7 separate regions of the Homo sapiens genome follow, and all the other regions are linked to region 1. Evidence: promoter capture Hi-C in 16 types of primary human blood cells and fetal thymus (Javierre and others, 2016). All regions are on one chromosome and are shown on one strand. Each heading gives the region's core, a stretch centred on a gene start or on the middle of the fragment in contact. The rest is flanking DNA. Distances are from core to core; before and after follow the strand shown.

Evidence for each region. The method cuts DNA at HindIII sites, captures the fragments that hold promoters and counts their contacts. A CHiCAGO score of 5 or more calls a contact.
Region 2: a contact is called between a fragment that was not itself captured here and the fragment with the promoter of BOD1L1 in region 1, in 1 of 17 cell types (activated CD4 T cells). The highest score is 5.0, in activated CD4 T cells.
Region 3: a contact is called between a fragment that was not itself captured here and the fragment with the promoter of BOD1L1 in region 1, in 1 of 17 cell types (non-activated CD4 T cells). The highest score is 7.0, in non-activated CD4 T cells.
Region 4: a contact is called between a fragment that was not itself captured here and the fragment with the promoter of BOD1L1 in region 1, in 2 of 17 cell types (non-activated CD4 T cells and fetal thymus). The highest score is 5.2, in non-activated CD4 T cells.
Region 5: a fragment that was not itself captured here is called in contact with the fragment with the promoter of BOD1L1 in region 1 in 1 of 17 cell types (non-activated CD4 T cells); the score reaches 7.0 in non-activated CD4 T cells.
Region 6: a fragment that was not itself captured here is called in contact with the fragment with the promoter of BOD1L1 in region 1 in 2 of 17 cell types (total CD4 T cells and naive CD8 T cells); the score reaches 6.6 in total CD4 T cells.
Region 7: a contact is called between a fragment that was not itself captured here and the fragment with the promoter of BOD1L1 in region 1, in 2 of 17 cell types (total CD4 T cells and naive CD8 T cells). The highest score is 6.5, in total CD4 T cells.

Annotation. Positions count from the first base shown.
Region 1 is chr4:13,626,337-13,629,060 of GRCh38, reverse strand. BOD1L1 (biorientation of chromosomes in cell division 1 like 1) reads left to right here and starts at 1,336. Exons shown (of 26, transcript NM_148894.3): 1 at 1,336-1,716. The coding sequence starts at 1,474. It overlaps MIR5091 (microRNA 5091), which reads right to left and starts at 1,196; the gene lies at 1,104-1,196. RefSeq lists enhancers at 446-1,176, 1,180-1,339, 1,177-1,907 and a silencer at 1,480-1,679. The HindIII fragment of the contact is 7,220 bases long and covers 1-2,724 here.
Region 2 is chr4:16,235,720-16,238,443 of GRCh38, reverse strand. All of the region lies in intron 1 of TAPT1-AS1 (TAPT1 antisense RNA 1), which reads right to left. Among named protein-coding and RNA genes, the nearest start is that of TAPT1-AS1, 10 kb to the right of the region's middle. The HindIII fragment of the contact is 2,892 bases long and covers 1-2,724 here.
Region 3 is chr4:16,216,805-16,219,528 of GRCh38, reverse strand. The region is part of intron 1 of TAPT1 (transmembrane anterior posterior transformation 1); the gene reads left to right. Among named protein-coding and RNA genes, the nearest start is that of TAPT1, 8.3 kb to the left of the region's middle. The HindIII fragment of the contact is 816 bases long and covers 906-1,721 here.
Region 4 is chr4:15,781,952-15,784,675 of GRCh38, reverse strand. All of the region lies in intron 1 of CD38 (CD38 molecule), which reads right to left. Among named protein-coding and RNA genes, the nearest start is that of CD38, 5.0 kb to the right of the region's middle. The HindIII fragment of the contact is 614 bases long and covers 1,084-1,697 here.
Region 5 is chr4:11,467,846-11,470,569 of GRCh38, reverse strand. No RefSeq gene overlaps it. Among named protein-coding and RNA genes, the nearest start is that of HS3ST1, 40 kb to the right of the region's middle. RefSeq lists an enhancer at 199-388. The HindIII fragment of the contact is 739 bases long and covers 1,014-1,752 here.
Region 6 is chr4:15,746,602-15,749,325 of GRCh38, reverse strand. It overlaps a transcript of BST1 not described here. Among named protein-coding and RNA genes, the nearest start is that of CD38, 30 kb to the left of the region's middle. The HindIII fragment of the contact is 683 bases long and covers 1,033-1,715 here.
Region 7 is chr4:15,691,156-15,693,879 of GRCh38, reverse strand. No RefSeq gene overlaps it. Among named protein-coding and RNA genes, the nearest start is that of BST1, 11 kb to the left of the region's middle. The HindIII fragment of the contact is 703 bases long and covers 1,023-1,725 here.

The sequences.
Region 1 (2,724 bases), core at 87-2,586:
CATAGTCATTTGGTATCTTGGTAAAACCTATCTGGTATATTTCCCAGAATCTGAAAGAGTGAAAAAATAAGGATTAAGTAAACAAATCCTTTGGCAAGCCAGGTGGTTTTCAGCTCTTTGCTTTCCATAAAATAGAAGGAGGGCCTAATTGAAGTCAGCTCATAGATAATCAAATCTAATTTTTTGAGGTCAAGAATTGAATGATATTGCTACAACAAAACTCTTCCATTCCTAGGCACAGTACTTGTTTATATGAACAAGGTTTCTCAGGGCACACAGCTATAAAAATTACAAATAGGAATAGAATTGATGCTCAACCCTTCTTTTCCTACTAATAAGATATATTCAGCCACAGATGTAGGAACTTTAAAAAGCAACAATATGCATTTTTCAATAAAGTTACACACACTATTTAGTAATTATGAAATTTTCTAATATTTATGTTGCTTTGACCACGTACTAATAATAATTTCAAAGATGATGCAGTCCAAAAGCAGGTGATTTGCTAGCTGTGTAATCTTACTCAACATACTTAATTTATCTGAGCCTTGGTTCCCTGATTTGCAAACTGGGGACAGTAATCAGACCTAGCTCTTAGTGTTTGTCCAAAGATTAAATGCGTTAATACATGTAAAAGCACTTAACGCCACGCTTGGTACATAATATGTGCTATAGATGTTTTACCTGCTATAATCATAGTAATCAATAGCAAATCTCCTAAAAATAAAAGCCTGTCGATTTGTCTTCACAGATAGGAAGAACGGGCTGGAGGGATCGGATCTAATCCACAGGCACACTGCCAGAAACAAGGGACCCCCACGGGGAAATGGTATGTGCAGGCAGAAGAGAGACAGAAGGAACTTGGAGCTACCTGCTGGGACAAGAATAGTGCAGGATCACAGGCTAAGAACGAAGAGGGTTGGGCGAAGTTAGAATGAGCAGATCCACGTAGGGTTCGCATTACAAATGTCTATGGATCTCTATGCACTGCTCCGGGAAACTGGAGCAAGAGAGGCAGGCCTAAAATGCCGTCGCGGATGAAGCGGGGCCAGAAACGCACTGCCCCCGCTCAGACCTAGGGCCCCAGGTGTCGCGCGGGTCGAAGCCCTAACCTCCAGGGACTCCAGACCCCTGCCGGTGACCTAAACCCCACAACCCGCGACCAGCACAGTCTTGTCGTCTCCGTCGCCACAGTCGCCGCCACTTCCGGCGCAGCTCGGCCTCGCGAGGGCGCTTGCGCCCGGCGACGGTCGAAACTGGCTCTTCGCGGCCTCCGTCGCCGGACTTTCGTCAATGTTGTCACCGTCTTTTCCTCCTTTCCCCCAGTTCCCTTTCACTTCCGGGGTTGCTCTGGATCCGCTGGTTCCGTAACAACATCCCGTTGGCTTCCCTCAGGCGGCGGGACCAGTGCAGCCGCCGCCTCCCAGGATCGTCCGCCGGTCAGGGCCCTTGCCCTCCCCGGCACAGGCCACCATGGCCACCAACCCACAGCCGCAGCCGCCTCCTCCGGCGCCGCCGCCTCCCCCGCCGCAGCCGCAGCCGCAGCCACCGCCGCCGCCGCCGGGCCCCGGGGCTGGCCCCGGCGCGGGCGGGGCGGGCGGCGCGGGTGCGGGCGCCGGGGACCCGCAGCTCGTGGCCATGATCGTGAACCACCTCAAGAGCCAGGGGCTCTTCGACCAGTTCCGCAGAGACTGCCTGGCCGACGTGGACACCAAGGTTAGGAGCGCGCCGGGTTTGGGGGTCTGCGAGGGAAGGGGAGGACCCAAGGGCGCGCTTCTTTTGCAGTGGCTTCCTCTTGGAGCTGCAGCTGTGTGCCACGGACTGTGCAAAGCACAGAGTGTTCATTCCTTAGCGTGTCCTTTGGTTCGTTTTACCGACTAGTGTTTAAGTACCTACTACGTGCCAGTCATGGTTTCGGCACAGTGATTACCCCGGTCTGATGAGCAAGACTAAGGCATTGTTCTTACAGGAACTGGTTTGGAAACAGTGGCGCTAACAGTAGCCAGTTTTGTATTCATTCTCATATCTGATGATTTTACTTTGTATCGAAGTTATGTTTGCCTTCTTTCTTGAAGGTTTCTGGGCGGTAAGGGCCTTTATCCTTTGGAGAAATGACTAAATGGTAATTGAATCAAGTTATGTGTAATATGCTTTGCTGGACATCGTGGGGGTGGGAGCGCAAAGATAAGGAGGCAAACCTGAGACAGGACTTTAGTATTGTTTCTAGCAGTGATTGCCTGATTTAGGTAACTTAGGCCATGTCACCATTCTAAGGTAAGAAGGGACAGGAAGGTGGGGTAGAGAGAACCGAGTCATTCAGTGGAGAAAAGATGCAGGAGAGGTGACAGCAGATACTGAAGTGGAGAAAGGACAGGAAAGAGAGCAGATTCAGGAGAGTAATGTAGAGAAGGGAAAGGACAGCAACAAGGTTCCCTGTCCAGAAAGAGAGGCTGGAAAGGGGAAGGGATTTTGTACCAAATGTCAGAGTGAAAGGGACATTAGCAGGAACAAGTAAACTTAGCTGGATTGGCAAAGAATTAGCCAAAGACACCAGGAAAGAGCAGTCAGTGAGATGGATGGAAAACCACAGTACAGTCTAGAATTCTGGAAGCAGAAAGCATGTTGGAAAATTAACTGGTTTGTAGGGGTTGTTTTTGTCTGCTTGTTAAATCTGGTTGGGTCCATTGGATTGGAGTTTTGATGAAATGAGGGTTTCCTTTTTTT
Region 2 (2,724 bases), core at 125-2,624, 2.6 Mb before region 1:
TGATAGTACTGTGGGGTTAAGGGCAGTAAGATCCCCTTGACTGAGATATGAAAGCAAGTGATAGCAGCTCTGGAGAAAGTTCTGGGCCCAGGAAGGAATTAGGGGTTTAATGGGGAACCCAAAGTAAAAGCCCAAATGGATGGGCCAGATTGAGGATGGTTCTGTCTTGGGCACGGCTGCAGAGGAATCATTAGATATGGAGATTTAGGCAGCAATGCTAAATTCTACCCCTGGAAAGGACTGGGATCTTAATTTTCTTCTTGGGGATCCTGTTCCAACTCTCCTGTACATTCATCCTCTCCTCTCTAACCCATCGGCACCTAACCATGCTTAAGTCTCTCCGTACTAAAAGGAAACAAACCAGCCAATCAATAAGCAAATTTTTCTTCTTGCAGCCCAGTGTTGTCCTTGTAATTGTCTCCACATCTTCGCTTCCTTCTTGCTCCTCTTCTGTATACCCAGCTGCATATCTTTCTCCGTTCATGAGGTTGCCTTCAGTGACGACAGGGTGATGTTATTGTTGCAAAATCCACACATTTCAGTATGCATCCTCTTTGCAGCATCCAACATTGTTGACCACTTCCTCTTTCTTGACTTGACTTCCACAAGAATGCCGTCTTGTGAGTTTCTCCCTACCTTCTACCGCTCCTTCCTGGATTCTTTCTCCTAGTTTTTTGGGGTGCTCTTCTCTTACGCTATACACCCTCTGGTGAGATGTCATCCACTCTCTTGCCCCCATACCCAGATGCAAATGCTTACAAATCTACATTTCATCCTAGACTTCTCTTCAAATCGCCATACCTATATACATGTACCTATGTTCTGGACTTCTATCCTTGGCTCTTCCATAGGCAGAAGAATGCCATTTAGATTCTGAGGCAGTTTTGGTTTTAAGGACCAAAATGAAACCGACAAGGGCCAAAATGATACACAGCAAAATTTGTTATAGATGAAAAGCTGACTTGAGAATCACAGATCATTGGTAATTTTTAAAGTTGAAAAAATTGTCTCATGAAACTATTTCGCTGGTTACAAAAAAAAAGGTAAAATACAACTGAAAATAGCAAAAACAGAAAATGGTAAAAAGTTATTATTGCTCACAAATTAATGAAAAATCAAAAAGAGTAGTTGTCCAAAATTTGACATGGTAAAAATAGTAGAGCTAAAACGACATTTATCATGGAAAAGTTGTATCTGTAAAAATTTGAAAAAGATGATGATAAAGAGGTTGATAAATCAAGTATTCATTGTAAAATGTACACAAGAAAGATTTTGTCCTGATGGAAACAGTGCTAGTAAAACAATACAGGAGGGAACAAATTGGAAAAGATTAAATTTGCAATATAGGAAATAGGTCAATAAATTAAACTAGCTTAACGAAGTTAACCCTGGAATAAATCTTTACCACAAAATTCATCAGTGTTGATATCATCTTGACGGCAATGTTTATATTCAAGAACAAAAAAAACAGCAGGGTCAAAACATACAAGAGCTCAAAATGATGTCAAAATGTCCTGCGCTCCCTCTGGGTACTTCAAATTCCACAATTTCCACACTGGACTCACTTTCCATTCCCTACCTATACCCTAAACTGCTTCTCTTGCATTTCCTATCTCTGAGAATAGCACCGTCATCCTCAAGTCAAAATTCTGTACATTTTCCCCGAAATCTCCTCTCTCTTCCTTACGCACTTTTCCCCCACCTGTACACCATATCACTTGCTGCCTTTTCTGGCACCTAATTATCTCTCAATGCATTCTCTCCACCCCATTTCCACTGTAACTCCTGCTGTTAAGGCCATTAACACTTCTGGGCTACAGTCTCTTCACTGGTCATAGTGATTCTCTTGACTCCCCCAAACTATTCCACATGCCAGCAAGGAAAGAGATCTTCCTGAAGTGCAAATCTAATCATCTACTCTTCACACATTCCCTCTGCCCTGTGCCTAGCTTGCAAGGCCCCTTGTAATATTTGTATTTGCAGCCTAACCCCACCATCACATCACAGCTACATTACACCTCCCTCTGTGCCTTAGACTTCCCATCCTCTCCCTGGCTTAAAGGCATTGCACACAGTTCTCCTTCTACCTCAGATCCTGCTGCTTTCAACCTAAACCTGATAACTCCTGTGCTAGTGAATCCTTACTCATCCTTTAAGAATTATGTTGCAACTGTCTATTTCCTAGTCTTTCTCTACTACCACATTATAAAGTTCTTAGGATAAAGTCATGACTTATTCACCTTTATATTCTTAATAGCAAGTACAGTTACACTTGCAATTACTGACATGTAATAGGACGTCTCCATATATTTGTTGAACTAATGAATGCAGCTTATTTAATCTTCACAACAATCCTGCATAGCAGGTATTACTATTGTTGTTTTAAAGAAGCTCAAAGAAGTAACTTGCCCCAGTCCCCACAGCAAGTAAGGAGCAGTTTGGATTTAACCTGCATCAGTTTATAAGGTGCATGTTATTTCTATTCTACCATGCCCTGTCTTTCAACTGGATGCAACCAAAATACAGATATGGGGACACAGTTCCTACAAATATGGGATCGAGAGCTGACAGGGGGAGTAATGCATTAAAAAACAGTTACAACGCAGTGTGGTGTGCAGTTGTAGATGCATGAACCATGGGTGTATACTGAAAAGAATGGCCATGGGGGAATGGGAGGTTAAAAGACTGTGAGGTGGAATATTAGAGCTGGGGCTTAAAAGAGGT
Region 3 (2,724 bases), core at 64-2,563, 2.6 Mb before region 1:
ATTCCCCAGCCTATTAGCATCGCGCTAATTGTACGCAAAGTTTACCCTTACATTCAGAACTCACCGGCAGGGCTGGACTTCGAGAATATAGGGATACATGGGGCCTGCTCTTAGAAAGTTCATGGTCTTGTAAGGGAGCAACTAGTAAAGAGTGTAGCTTCACAGAAGTCAGCCCAAGCTGCAGTGGGAGCACAGGTAAAGGGGAGGGACAGAGGGCTCCTAATTTTCCAGAAGTAACACAGTGGCCTGTTTACAAAGGCACTTGAGGCAATAATAGGCAAAGCTATCTAATGGTGAAAAGCACACTCTCTAGCCATAGACTGCTTGACTTTGAATTCTGGCTTTTCTGCTTGCTTCCTGTGTGACCTTGGAGATCTCCTTAGCCTCTCTGGGCCTTGGTTTCTTCATCTGCAAAATGGGCATAACAGTAGAACCTGTTTCATAGTTGTGAGAGCTGTACACTCAAAATAGGTTATGTTTTTATTTGACTTTTTATATTCTCCATTGTAGAATCTAAACTAGTGTTTATAATTAAAATTCTTGGATATCTAGAGGTAGAATCCAGACATTGTATTGTTTTGTACTTGTAATTAAAACACTCAGTATTTATGTTGTATGATAACATGTTTACAGAAAATTACTTAGATGATATATGTTGTTAAATATACTTATTTGTCATATTACCTTTTAATGATAGAGCTAGGATTGCAGAAATAAACATTAGATAACCACCAAACCAGAACTGATTAATACTACAGTACTTGTGAAGTTAATATGAAGTAGTTGAAGACACTGCGTCATGCTTTGCAGTTTTTATATACTTTCATACAAATACTGTCTTAGTCCTTTGATGATTCTGTGGATAAGGCAAACAGCTGACAGGTATTAAAAAACTGCTCTAAGCTTCCATTTTCTTTTCGGTGAAATTGACATCTGTGACTGGAGCAGGGTCACAGGACTAATGTTTAAGACAGCTGGTACCAGGACAGCCTTCCTCTGGTTGCTAATCCCATGCTCTTCTGTGGATCATAACACAACTCTCATTATGGTCAAAGCTGTCATCTCCAGTCACCAGAGAAGACACCATTGTGGAGAATAATTTTCCAAATAAACCTCTTTTTCTTGAGATGGAGTTTCACTCTTGTCACCCAGGCTGGAGTACAGTACACGATCTCGGCTCACTGCAGCCTCTGCCTCTGGGTTTCAAGTGATTCTCCTGCCTCAGCCTCCCAAGTAGCTGGGATTACAGGCACCTGCCACCACACCTGGCTAATTTTTTGTATTTTTAGTAGAGACGGGGTTTCGCCATTTTGGACAGGCTGGTCTCAAACTCCTGACCTCAGGTGATCCTCCCACCTTGGCCTCCCAAAATTGATGGGATTACGGGCGTGAGCCACTATGCCCGGCCCCAAATAAACCTTTTTATTTAATTTGCTTTTTAAAATTGAAAATGATTGTGCAGTAATGTGTTTCTGTATCTCTTTAACCCAGATGGCATTCTTGTGGGCTGCGTAATTTCTTTCCTTGCACTTAGTGTGGACAATGAGGATCTCCTTATTCCCAAACCCAGGGCACTCACTGGCTGTGACTGCATCATGGTACCCTGTTCCCTCAGGGGGTTTGAGGTTCAGGTACCCGTTGGGTTACCTTTACAGTCACTTAGCTACACATACAGAGTAGAGGCTCCTGAATCAGCAGCAGCTGCTACCTTGAGTGAAGCTTTTCACTCCTTCCCTGCTAACTCCCCAAGTCTCAGAACAATTCTGTCACAATCACAAGTTCTTTTCTCAAGTATCTGGAATGCTCTTCTTTTGTCATGTCTGATTTTTGTTTTATATTGGTACGTTGTTATTTATTAAGCAATTCCATTACTATTGAACATTTTGATTAATTCCAGTTTTGTTTTCATATAGATCATCTTTCAATAGAGAAATTCAGCGGTAAAGAAAAATGAGAAAATACCAGAAATTATCATATCAGAAGGGACAAATCACCCACATGAAAGTTTAGCTCAGTTTGCTGTTCACATCACTTCCTCAATTCTTTGTCGGTTCTGTTCTTTGCTGCCTGACTCCTAAAGAGACTAATTTGGCCACTCCGTTTTATGTCTAATTCTTTCTTTTCTTAGTCACTTCCCTTTCCATTTCATTTTTAGCTTCTCACTGTCTGATTCTGTTTTTGTTCTCTATGATTTTTCTTCTTCTCCTCTGACCTGTATATTGTTTTAGCAAAGATTTGTTGAGTACCTGTTATGTGCTGGGTCCCAGTGATGCAAAGGTGAATGAGAAAACCAGACAAGAAAATGAATGTAGTATACTGCAGAAAATCATAGGCAGGTGCAGGTACTGTGGAAGCCGAGTAGGGGAAAGGACAGACTCTGCCTGAGAAACTTAGGGAAGTCTTCACAGAGAGGGTACCGTCTGGGCATGTTCACTCCTGGAAAATTGGTAGGGGATTCTCAGACCAAGGAGCAGTGTGAACCCATTGACGTGTTTGGGAGAAATGAAAAGTAGTATAAAAAGAAAATTGTGACCTAGAGATTCAGGGGAGGCAGGTGTGAAGCATGACTAAAGAGATGGCCTGTGTCCAGTTGTAGAGGTTCTGGGATGGCCCGCACTGAGAAGGTAGGACTTTATTCTGGAGGTAATGAAGAACCACTGAAGGGTTTCAGCAGAACCATATCTGATCTGTGTGAGCTGCTGACTGGCTGCCAGGTGGAGTTAG
Region 4 (2,724 bases), core at 141-2,640, 2.2 Mb before region 1:
TTCCAGCACTCTACTGAATCTCATGGTCTCAGTGAGGACACTGATGTTGAGCAGGTGGTCATTCCATCACTCCAGGGGAAAAACATGCTGGAATTCTGTCCTGTGCAAAATGGTCACCCTCATAGTCTCTTGTGTGCTGAGAAGGTCCAGCTGTGGACAGACCAAGAGGAAGTCCAGACCCTCTCACCAGCAGAATCCTCCCCAAGATCCCCAAACCTTTAAGGGTTTAGTCAATCAATTGGCCAATCTTCCCTGGCAGTAGCATCTTACCTGACCGCCAGGATTTTCTCAGCAGGGTAACACACACTCTCCAGAGCACCCTCTTGTTGAAATTCTACCTTTAAAGGAAGACCTGAAATGCTATTTCTTTCTTAAAGTGCTTCCTGACTCTGCCCCACCACATGGGGCACGTCTGCATCTCCATGGCATTGTGCTGGTACTCCACTCACATATTCAGCAATTCACATAGTCTTTCTTGTTTGATAGGGGTACATTTCTTACATCCCTGCAGAATCTAGCGCAGCACTAACTGCACAGAAGCAATGGCTCCTTCCTCAGTGACCTCTTGGCTGTGTACAGGCCTCTTTTTCATTACAGATCACATGGTGTTGCGTTGCTCTGTTCCCAGGTTGGTCCTCCGCATACCTCCCACTGCAGGATCCTGGAGATCAATGCTTGTGTTTCTTCATTTGTGAATCTCCCATGTCTCACCCTAGCATTAGGCAGACAGCTAAGTCTTTGCTAAGTGTTTGCATAAATTTGCTGTTTTGCTCATGTTGTACTAACAAGTTTTGCTGAGTAGACCCTGAGAAAATCCTACAGTCATTAAAATGGGAGGCATGGGGAAGTAAAAATGGAGAATTGGCTCCCAAGAAATCCTGCCAGAAATTTTGAAGAGGAAGTTAAATAAAAAAGAAATCGACATGAACATGAATCAGAAAAGATGGTCCTTGTGGGCACAGAAGTGATCATTAGAACGTAAGGTAAGACAGATGAAAGATTTTCTCTGATTAAGTCTCCCACAATTTCTACTTATGTTCAACCAGCATGATGTGGACTCAAGGCAGCTCAATATAGCAAGCTTCTATTAAGAGACTGTTAGGTGATAAGCAATGTGTTAGACAACTGGAGATGCAGAAGTGAATAAAATAGTCCTTCCCCACAGGGCCCCCACCTTGTCTTGGGGCAGGGATAAGGGGAGCTCTCAGAAATGCCTGCTCCCATCCCTGCATGCTTGCCTAGACCACCAGCAGTCTGCAGCTATCGTCAGTACCTGCAATCACCATCATCCATGGAGAGGGCTGGTTTTCACCCAGGTGAGATTAGTGGAACTGAAGTTACACTCTCTGGATATCTTCCTAAATTCCCAGCTTCCCCTAGGTGCTGGCTCTCCATTCCCTCCTGCAGGCCCCACCCCACCCCTGACATCACCTGGGTCCGTCCTGACTATCACCAGACACTGGGCTCCCTCCCACAGTACCGAGATGCTGTCAGCTCTGACAGTCAGCAAACGCTTTGTTGAGTCTTGGCCATGTGTATTTCAGGTCTCATGTGCCCAGAGACATCTTGGTCAGAAGGCAGCTCTTGTGTGTGGCCCTTGAGACAGCAGAACCAGAGGTGATCTGTTCAGGAATATTCCGCATGTAATGCCCCTGGTTCAACTCAAAGAACCAACCTGGTAACGCCAAGAACAAGCTTCAATACTCACCTACCCACACTAAAAAACTTGCAGAAAGTGAGTTTCTCTGGAGACCCTTACTACTATACTGTGGCACTATTACTAAGACTGTGTGACAGGCAGGAGAGGGGAGTTCTAAAGGAGACTGTTAGTGCAGGCAAGATGGACTTGGGAGAAATTGTTGAGAGATGTTTGGAAAAGGACAACCAAGGAAAAGGAACAGTGAGGAAGATAAAGTGCTACAACCTCTAAAGAAATACTAAGGACCTACTACACAAAGGAAAAATTAACAGTTTCTATGCTCAAGACAGAAATTGAGGGTTTGGGGAGTAATGGTATTAGGTCGTTCACTGGGGAAGTATATTTATTACAACTTTGTTTATGTTATTTTTAATACCCTGGCTTATATACCATTCATTTAATTCAGCTAAATATTTAATGACTATTGTATTTCAGGCACTATTCTAGGTCCTCAAGATATATCATTAAACAAAAGTCCCTAGGCTCAAGAAGACATTCCAGGAGGCATGTATTAGATTTTTATCATCTTAAAAGCTAATTGATAAAAGGTAATAAAATAAGTGTAAGAGAAGGACAAAAGAAAGACCAGAAGAAAATGAAAACAGAAAAGCTAACAAATCCAGATGTAAAGGGTAAAAACTGTCTACATTATTTTTGCTACTTCCTCCATGGAGGGGTGGAGTTTGTTTCTCCTTCTTTTGAATCTGGGCTGGTCCGGTGATTGTTTTAACCTATAGAATCTGTGGAAGGGAAGCTGTGCCAGTTGTGGATCTGAAGCTTTGAGTGGGCTTGCCAGGCTCCACTTTTGAGAGTTTAGAAACCTTGAAGAAATTCACCTCCACCAGGGAGAGACCATATGGAGAGGCCACATGGATAGAGAGAGGCCGTGTGGCAACACAGAGAGGAAGGGAGGCCTGACCAGCCCAGCTGAGCCCAGGAGCCATCGTGTTAAGTGGGACATCTTGGATGTTCCTGCCAAGACAATGTTGCAGATGCCTACACCCCCAGCTGACACCAAGTGAAAC
Region 5 (2,724 bases), core at 134-2,633, 2.2 Mb after region 1:
CTTTACCTTCAAAGATTAAAATCAGCATAGCAACAAAACATGAGGCTCTTGGTTTTACTCAGTGCTTTTCTTACATGGTCTCATTGCATTCACAGAGCAGTGTTACAGAAGGTTAGAGACCCTTGGAGATAAAACATGTAGGGATTTCCACTCTTTTTGGTGATGCCCCAAGAACCTGGGAAGGAGTGTCAGAGTCTGCCCTCTGGGGATGGGGGCTCCCTCCAGGGGCGGGAAGCCCATCTGGCTCATCTCTCTGCCCTTGGCTCAGCTGACCATGCAACTGCAGCTGCTTGCTTGGGCTTGTTTCATGCATGACAGTTTCAGTTACCTTTCACTTGAGAAATAGATCTCCCTGCTAAAAGAAAAAAAAAAAAAGAAAGAAAGAAAATGTTTGAAGACTACTGATCAGTTTCAATACCTTCATACTGTCCATAAAAACACACAGGCCCGTGTTGCACTGGCCGTCCCTTCGCATCTCACTCTCAGCGCCTCAGTGAGCTTTCTCAGCTGTGCTACGACAATGAGCATTTGCAGACCTCTTTTCCATCTTTCAAATTGTTGGCATCTCTCAACTATTCACATTGGTGGATTAATATGTTAAATACCTTTCATTGTTATTCTAGTGGAGTTTAAGGAGGAAGCAGCAATAGAATATGTATATGTATATACATATACATATACATATACATATACATACATATACACGCACACAGAAAGAGACAGAGAGGAGGGTTTTACCTTAGTCAGGGACTCCTCTCATTGCCTGAAATATTCTTCAGAGACTTGGAGCTCCAAGGTCTTGAGGAAGGCACCACAGTGAGTGGTGGAGTCGAAAACTGGAGGATTTGGTTGAATATTTCTATCAGTAGCACCTGGACTCTTTCCTTTCCCCTGCCAACCAAACATCCAAGCACCTGTCCTTTCTACTATGTCAAGAAAAGGGATTTTGTTTTGTGGAGACTTGAAACAGGAATTCTCTACCCTACTTAGAAAGAATAAGATTAAGTAAAGCTTCAATATCCCAAGGGAAATAAAGAAGCTATTGAAAATAAAAAAATAGAACAAAATACCATTAAAAGCATAATTAGAGAAGAGCATTAACACTTCTCTCCTTAAGGAAACATTGTTAACTGTTTTATAATTTGTATACCTTTTTTCCCAACAAAAAGTGTGCAATTGTTGTTAATAATAAAAGACTTTTGGTCATGATAATTAAAAAACAAAAAAGTAAAACAAACAAAAAAACCACAGGCCCAGAAAGGGACAATCACTTGCCTAAAATCACAGATCCACTTAGTACTTAAAGGCAAAGAAGGAACTAAGTGTTAGTCTTGGGTATCACATCAGTTTCTACTCCAGGACATGCAATTGCGGTACCTGGCTCAGGTGACCACAGTGAATGTAAATACCCAATGATTGGCCCAAGAGGAAAGGAAAACAATTTAAAAAATTCCTGACAGCTGCATTTCTGGAATGTCCCCACTCCTTCCTCATGCACCTGTTGCTGCCTGAACTTCTGACACTGAGTGGTTACCGGAGGCCTGGCGTCTCCTTAGAGCACTGCCACTGGCGCTGATGAACCAACTGAGGCAGACACTTTTACCTCCCTGAGCCTCACTTTTCTCCACCAGAAACTGGTTTAGGGGACAATAGCTTAGTACTGTCTCTTCTGGCTTCTATGTTCTTCTGGTTAAGAAAAAACTAACAACATTTCCCCCTGTCCTGACTTCCCAAAAGATTGAACATGAAGCTTCACTGAAATCCTGGATGGAAACATATTATTTCCAATGTAAAATGATAAAGCCTGGTCATGTGCAAGTTGCTCCCAGCTGCTGTGCCAGGGAGAGAGGGGAGGCATGCAATCAGCTTCCAGATAAAGGAGACAAGCTGTAGTGCTCAGGGCCCAACTGAGGAACATGTAAAGAGGGATTATATATATAATAAGTATCTACCTCTCTCTATATAAAGATATATATACATATATACATATATATATATATACGTATATATATATATATACATATATATATACGTATATATATATATATATATATATACGTATATATATATATACATATATATATATACGTATATATATATATATATATAGAGAGAGAGAGAGAGAGAGAGAGAGAGAGAGAGAGAAAGCATTGTTCTCTCTATAGAAAAGAAAGATTTTTCTGTAGAAGATAGATAGTTATCCCCTGAGAACCAGGAAAGCTGATGATACAATTCACAGAAGTCAAAAAAGTCCCCAGGCTGCATGAAGTTCCTTTGAAAAGGCAGGGTTGGCTTTCCCTGGTCTATGTAAGCCCCTTCCTGTAGGTAATGGCAGGTCCGGAGACACACCCCTGGAGGCTCTCTGAGTGCCACCTGGCAGTGCTGGCACAAGTGGGGGAAGCCAGGGAGTTGGTGAGGTGGGGTGCGGGGATGGCAGCTGGCTCAGCAGCTCCAAGAGTGCTATAGGGTCTCAGTTCTGAAATTATTCACAAGTACTCAGCAGACTCAGTGCACTTTAAAAGTCACTTTTTTTTTTCTCTCACAGAGAAAAAGGATGTTGTCTTATGGCTTCCTCACCTGTGACTTCTTGGAATTTTTTTTTTTTTTTTTGGAGATGGAGTCTTGCTCTGTTGCCCAGGCTGGATCCCGGCTCACTGAAACCTCTGCCTCCTGGGTTTAAGCAATTATCCTGCCTCAGCCTCCCAAGTACCTGGGATTGCAGGC
Region 6 (2,724 bases), core at 125-2,624, 2.1 Mb before region 1:
AAGTGCTGGTGTCTCGTGCTTATTCATCTTGGCAATGACCGTTTCTGGACCCATCCTCTCAACTTCCAATGGGAAGCACCTGTGACTGCCTGAGAGCCTTCTCTGACTTCCAATACCTGTTCTGCCCCCACACGGGGCAGCCTGGAAGTGTCAGGAATTAATATCCTTCCTGGGAGTGCCCTCAACCAATGACTGGCAGGAATGAAGGATAGACACCTCAGCTTCCCCATGTCTTTGATTAATTAACTCTGAGAAATTTGCTACACTGTCAGCCAAAGGTCCCCGCAGGATTAAGCTCCAGTTGCCCTCAGTGACAACTTGCTTGGTAATGTGTCCTTTATGGGCTGCTTCCCTCCCTCGTCTCATCCTCCCTTCCTCTGGTGTGCTGTGGCATTTCAATTACTGCGACTCTTGCATGAAGTGAGCTATGATGGAAGAAAGAGAAAGAGATGCACTGACTTACACGCTATTATAGCAACTGAGAGATGTCATAAAATGGTAATCATAAGGAATGTGGAATTAGCTGTTGCTTTCCACTACCATCATGTGCTAAGGGAAGAAAACAACAGGATCAGATCAACTACCAACTATCAACTCGGGTGTAGTGTGAAGTCAGAAGACCTCAATGGCCCTCAACATTGAAGGAGCCCCTCACCCCCTGCAGCCAGAGGGCAGACTGTGCGAAAATCCTACAAGCACAGCATGTTCATTATGATCACAGCAGAATAATCAAGAAACTTTGGTCTCTATTCCCAGCCCTGGCAGATATCCTTCATTAAAGTCAAGGCCTTTGTGGGGAGAGAGTAAGACCCTGAGATGGGATGGGGACATCTTTGCCTATGAAATGGCACACCTTGAACCCCTAGATTCCCATGACCCCCCAGAGAGTTGGCAGGAGTCGCTTTCTCCCCCTCTTACTGAAGGATAGCAGCTCCCTTTGCCTGGAAACTGTGCACAGCCTTGCATTGCAAGAGGGTGCTTGCCTCTTCAGAACCTGTCTCCCTTCACTGCTTCTAGACAAATAACTAAGCTTCAGTATCGGCACCATGCTCCTGGGAAATACTGTCCCTTATTTTGGAGAAAAGGGATTGTTAACCAAAAGAATTGTAGGATCTGCCTAAATATATGTCAGGAATTGGGAAAGCACGCATGAGAATGGTGTTGGACTGATAATGGTGGTACGTAATATACAAGGCTGGATAAGAAAGAATGAGTTGATAAAAGGGTACTCTCTCATGAGTCAAAGTTTAATGACCTGGCAAGGCACTTAGAGCTGGTCCTAATACAACTGTAGGAATGGCTCATTGAAATCTGGAGAAAAGAAGGCCTGAAATAAATGAGATAAGGTTGGCTGGACACAGTGGCTCATGCCTGTAATCCCAACACTTTAGGAGGCCAAGGAAGAAGGATTGCTTGAGGCCAGGAATTCGAGACCAGCCTTGGCAACATAGCAAGACCACATCTCTACAAAAAATAAGAATTTAAAATATTAGCTGGGCATGGTGACTTGTGCCTGTAGTCCTAGCTACTCAGGAGACTGAGGAAGGAAGATCACATGAGCCTAAGAATTTGAGGCTGCAGTGAGCCATGATGGGACCACTGTGCTCCAGCCTGGGAGAAGGTAGGAACTTGTCTCTAATAAATAAATAAATAAATGTTTTTAAAAACTAGATAAGATTTATTTACTACTGTGCTTTGGCTCAGGGAGATAAGCTTACTCCAAAGAATGACATAGAATAACACAGCTCGCTGACAATGTTTCCAAGAGAGTCCAAGAAGACAGTCTTCATTAAAACAGTAAAGAATGTGATGGTGATGGGGGTACTGGCTTCACGGAAAAACTCCGAAGTGGTTTATATTCTGAAGGCCAGGATTGATGGTAGTGATATCATTATGGGACTGGGATTCCTAGTACCAAGAAGCAAAATAGGATTCCAGAATAGTGGAGGCTTGGTGGCAGCAAGGCAGCCATGACTACTATAATGGCATAAAGGCAGCATGGCAAACAGGGGCCTGACAGGCACGAATCTGAGACTGTGGTTAATATATCCCATGGTTCCTAAGAGCTCTTAGATGTGCAGTTGATAAGGATATTGCTTGACCTTTACAATCAAAAGTGATCAGGAGCAAGAGAGCCAAATGTTGATGATGTCAGCTACCACAATGGACGATCACAGTCTGATACCCAGTTCCCAGACTGGTGTCTGGAACCTCAGGCCCAGATTTAATCACTTAAGGGAGAGGAAGTCCTGTAAGCCACAGCAAGCATATAACATAGTGATTCTCCCAACCCTTCCCCAAAGGGACCCATACCCATTTGTTGGAGTTCCTGTGCATTTGGAGGAATGGAATACTCAGATCTTCTGATGGCTTGATCACAGAGTCTGAGCTGTCACTGCTACAAGACCCAAAACACAATCATGGGCCCCCTCAGTTAAATAAGGACTTACTGAGGCTAGATGACAAATGGACTCCAGAACTAAGTTTATCAGCACCCATGCTGTGATCATGTCCCTAGCCCCCTCTCACATTTGTTTTTTGACCTGTGGAGTAAGAGCCTTTATAGTAGGAAAGATGAAGTAAACACCCCTGAAGGTGACCACCATTCCAGAGCAATACCACATCCTAGGTTCCTATGGTTTGAATGTTCCCTCCAAACTTATGATGAGATTCAATTGTCACAGTAACCATATTAAGGGGTGGGGCCTTTAAGAGGCAGAGCCT
Region 7 (2,724 bases), core at 125-2,624, 2.1 Mb before region 1:
CACCAAAGAAGATATTCCATTCCTAGGTATTTACCAAAGGAAAAATGAAAATACATCTATGCAAAGATTTGTGCCCATGTTTGTAGAAGCTTAATTCGTAACTCAAAACAGTAAACAATGCAAATGTCCAACAACAATATATTAATAACTTGTAACATCATCATATAATAGAGTATTATTTAGCAATACAAAAAAATGACAAATCTTTTAAAAATATGCTGAATGAAAGAAGCTAGATGTAAAAGAACACAAACTTTATTACTCCACTTACATAAATTTCTAGAAGAAATAGTAGTATGCTGATATACACAGTTGGCGGAAAAGAGATTTCAGATGGAACGAATTGCCTGAGCAAAGGCAGAAAAGGAAAAACCATGGAGCTTCTGAAAACAGTTGAAAATTTAGTTTGATTGGTAAACAGGTTGCAGATGGAGATTGGACAGGAAAGTTAGGGTCATATCTTAAAACCATTGAGCACAATGCTAAGGCATTTTCACTTTGTTCTCTTGATCATTATGAGTTATCAATAATTTCTGAGCTTCCTTATTGAAAACTGTGTTTCTTTTCTTGGCCAAAATTCTTGATTGCCAGAGAATGAAGAGAGATTATGCATTTAAAGGCCTTAGAATAGTGTTTCATAGTGTGCTCTCATTGATGGTTTTGAATGCTTATCTAATATGTTCTGTGTGTTTATTGTCCGTTGTGGAAGGCTGAAAAATAGGCCAGCAAAGATGTCCATGTCCTAAACCCTGGAGCCTATGAATACGTTACTTTACATAGTAAGAAGGCCTTTGCAGATGTGATTAAATTAAGGATCTTGAGATGAGCAGATTATACTGGCTGATCTGGATGAGTCCAATGTCATCTTAAGAGTCCTTACAGGAGGAAGTCAGGTAAATCAGAGACACAGAGAAAATAATGTGATGGCAAAAGCAGAGAGATACTTGAAGATATTATGCTGCTGGCTCTGAAGATGCAGGAAGGAGCCATAAGACAGGGGACGCAGGCAGACTTCAGAAGCTTGGAAGGGTAAGGAAACATTCTTCCCTGAATAATCCAGATGGAATGAATCCTGCTGATACCTCGACTTTTGCCCAGTATACATTGGACTCCAAAGAAGAATAAATTTATGTTGCTTTAAGCCACTATGTGGCAATTTGCTAAAGCAGCAATAGGAAACAAATACAGATTAGGGTACCTGAAACCATCACTCTTTCTGCCCCTTTTCCCCTTCATTTGTAAGGTTGAACTTGGGAATCACCAGGAGTAGGACTATTATTCTTGTTTAATCTTGACCAGAGTCCACAAGGAAGGCACCCCAAAGAAAAAGCAAGATTGGAGAATAGGTGAGTTCAGTCATCAAGATAAAGATTTTTCTGGCCCCAAATTATGACAACTTTGCTGTAACAAACACTAAAATTATGGAAGTAATTTGGATTTGGATAATCTGTAGAGAGACTGGAAGAATTCTTAGGAATATGATAGAAGAGGCCTAAATATGCTCGAATAGGCTGTTAGTAAAAATACGGGTGTTATGAGGGCTTGGAAGTAAGTGAACAGCATGGTAGAGAAAACCTGTATCATACTAGAGAAAATCTTAACACACCATAAACTGTAGAAATATAGATGTTAAAAGTGCTGCTGGTGAGGGCTCACAAGAAATTGAGAAACATATTTTTGGAAACTAAAGGAAAGAGGGTTCTTGTTATACAGTGGTAGAAAGCTTAGATGAATTGTGTCCTATAATTGTAAGAAAACAGAACTTTTAAGCAATGAACTTGTATAGTTGAAGTTTCCAAGCAGTGATGAAGGTCTGACTTGGATTTTTCTTGTTACTTTTAGAAAAATGAGAGAGAAAAGGGATAAACTGAGAGAACTGTTAGAAAATGAAACTATGATTTGATGATTTGAGTAATTCTCAGCCTATCCAGATTGCAAAAGATGCCAAAGCTAAGAGATCCACTGTAAGGAAAACATGCTCTGGCGAGAAAGCCAACAATATGGCTGCACATCCTTTTTTTAAAAAGTTTTTGAATTTTAAATTGTGGTAAAATATACACAATATGAAATTTATTATCTTAACTATTTGTAAGTGTGGGTAGTCTTTTGCTACTGCTTAGGAGGCACAAAAGATTACAGTATTCAGATACACAGAGCTCTTTGAAGAGGCATGTGACTCACAAACCCCCTCAACCAATCTCAGCAGAAGCCCCAACTAGAGATAGGATTATTCAGGAAACATCTGTTGAGAAGCCTCTTTCAATGGAGTGAATCCCTATGACTCACAATGTTTTGTTTACCAATAGAAACACTGTCAAATTGGACTAAAACGGACAGAGTGGTTGAAATGAAAGAAGGCAACCGAGTTCCCTAAATTCTACTAGCAGGAAATGGGCTAATAAAACTATTTAGTAGCAGACATGTGGTACTCCTCATCCAAAAAGATGGCTCTGAGGGTGGAGCCCCAGGTACAGAGGGCAGGTGCAGGAGCCACAGCTATTCCCAGGCTTAGTAACCTAATGCAGTTTGTCCATGGGACTTTGAAAGGAATTGGCTGGTGTCTTCTTTTTGGCTTTTTCTCCCTTTTTGAATGGGAACATCTATGAATGTTACCCTATTTCTGTCCCACTACTGTTGTAGAGCACAGAACTTGCTTTCTAGTTTCATAGGTCCTTAGATAAAAAATTTTGCCCCAGAGTAGATTATACTCAGAGCTGCACCCAT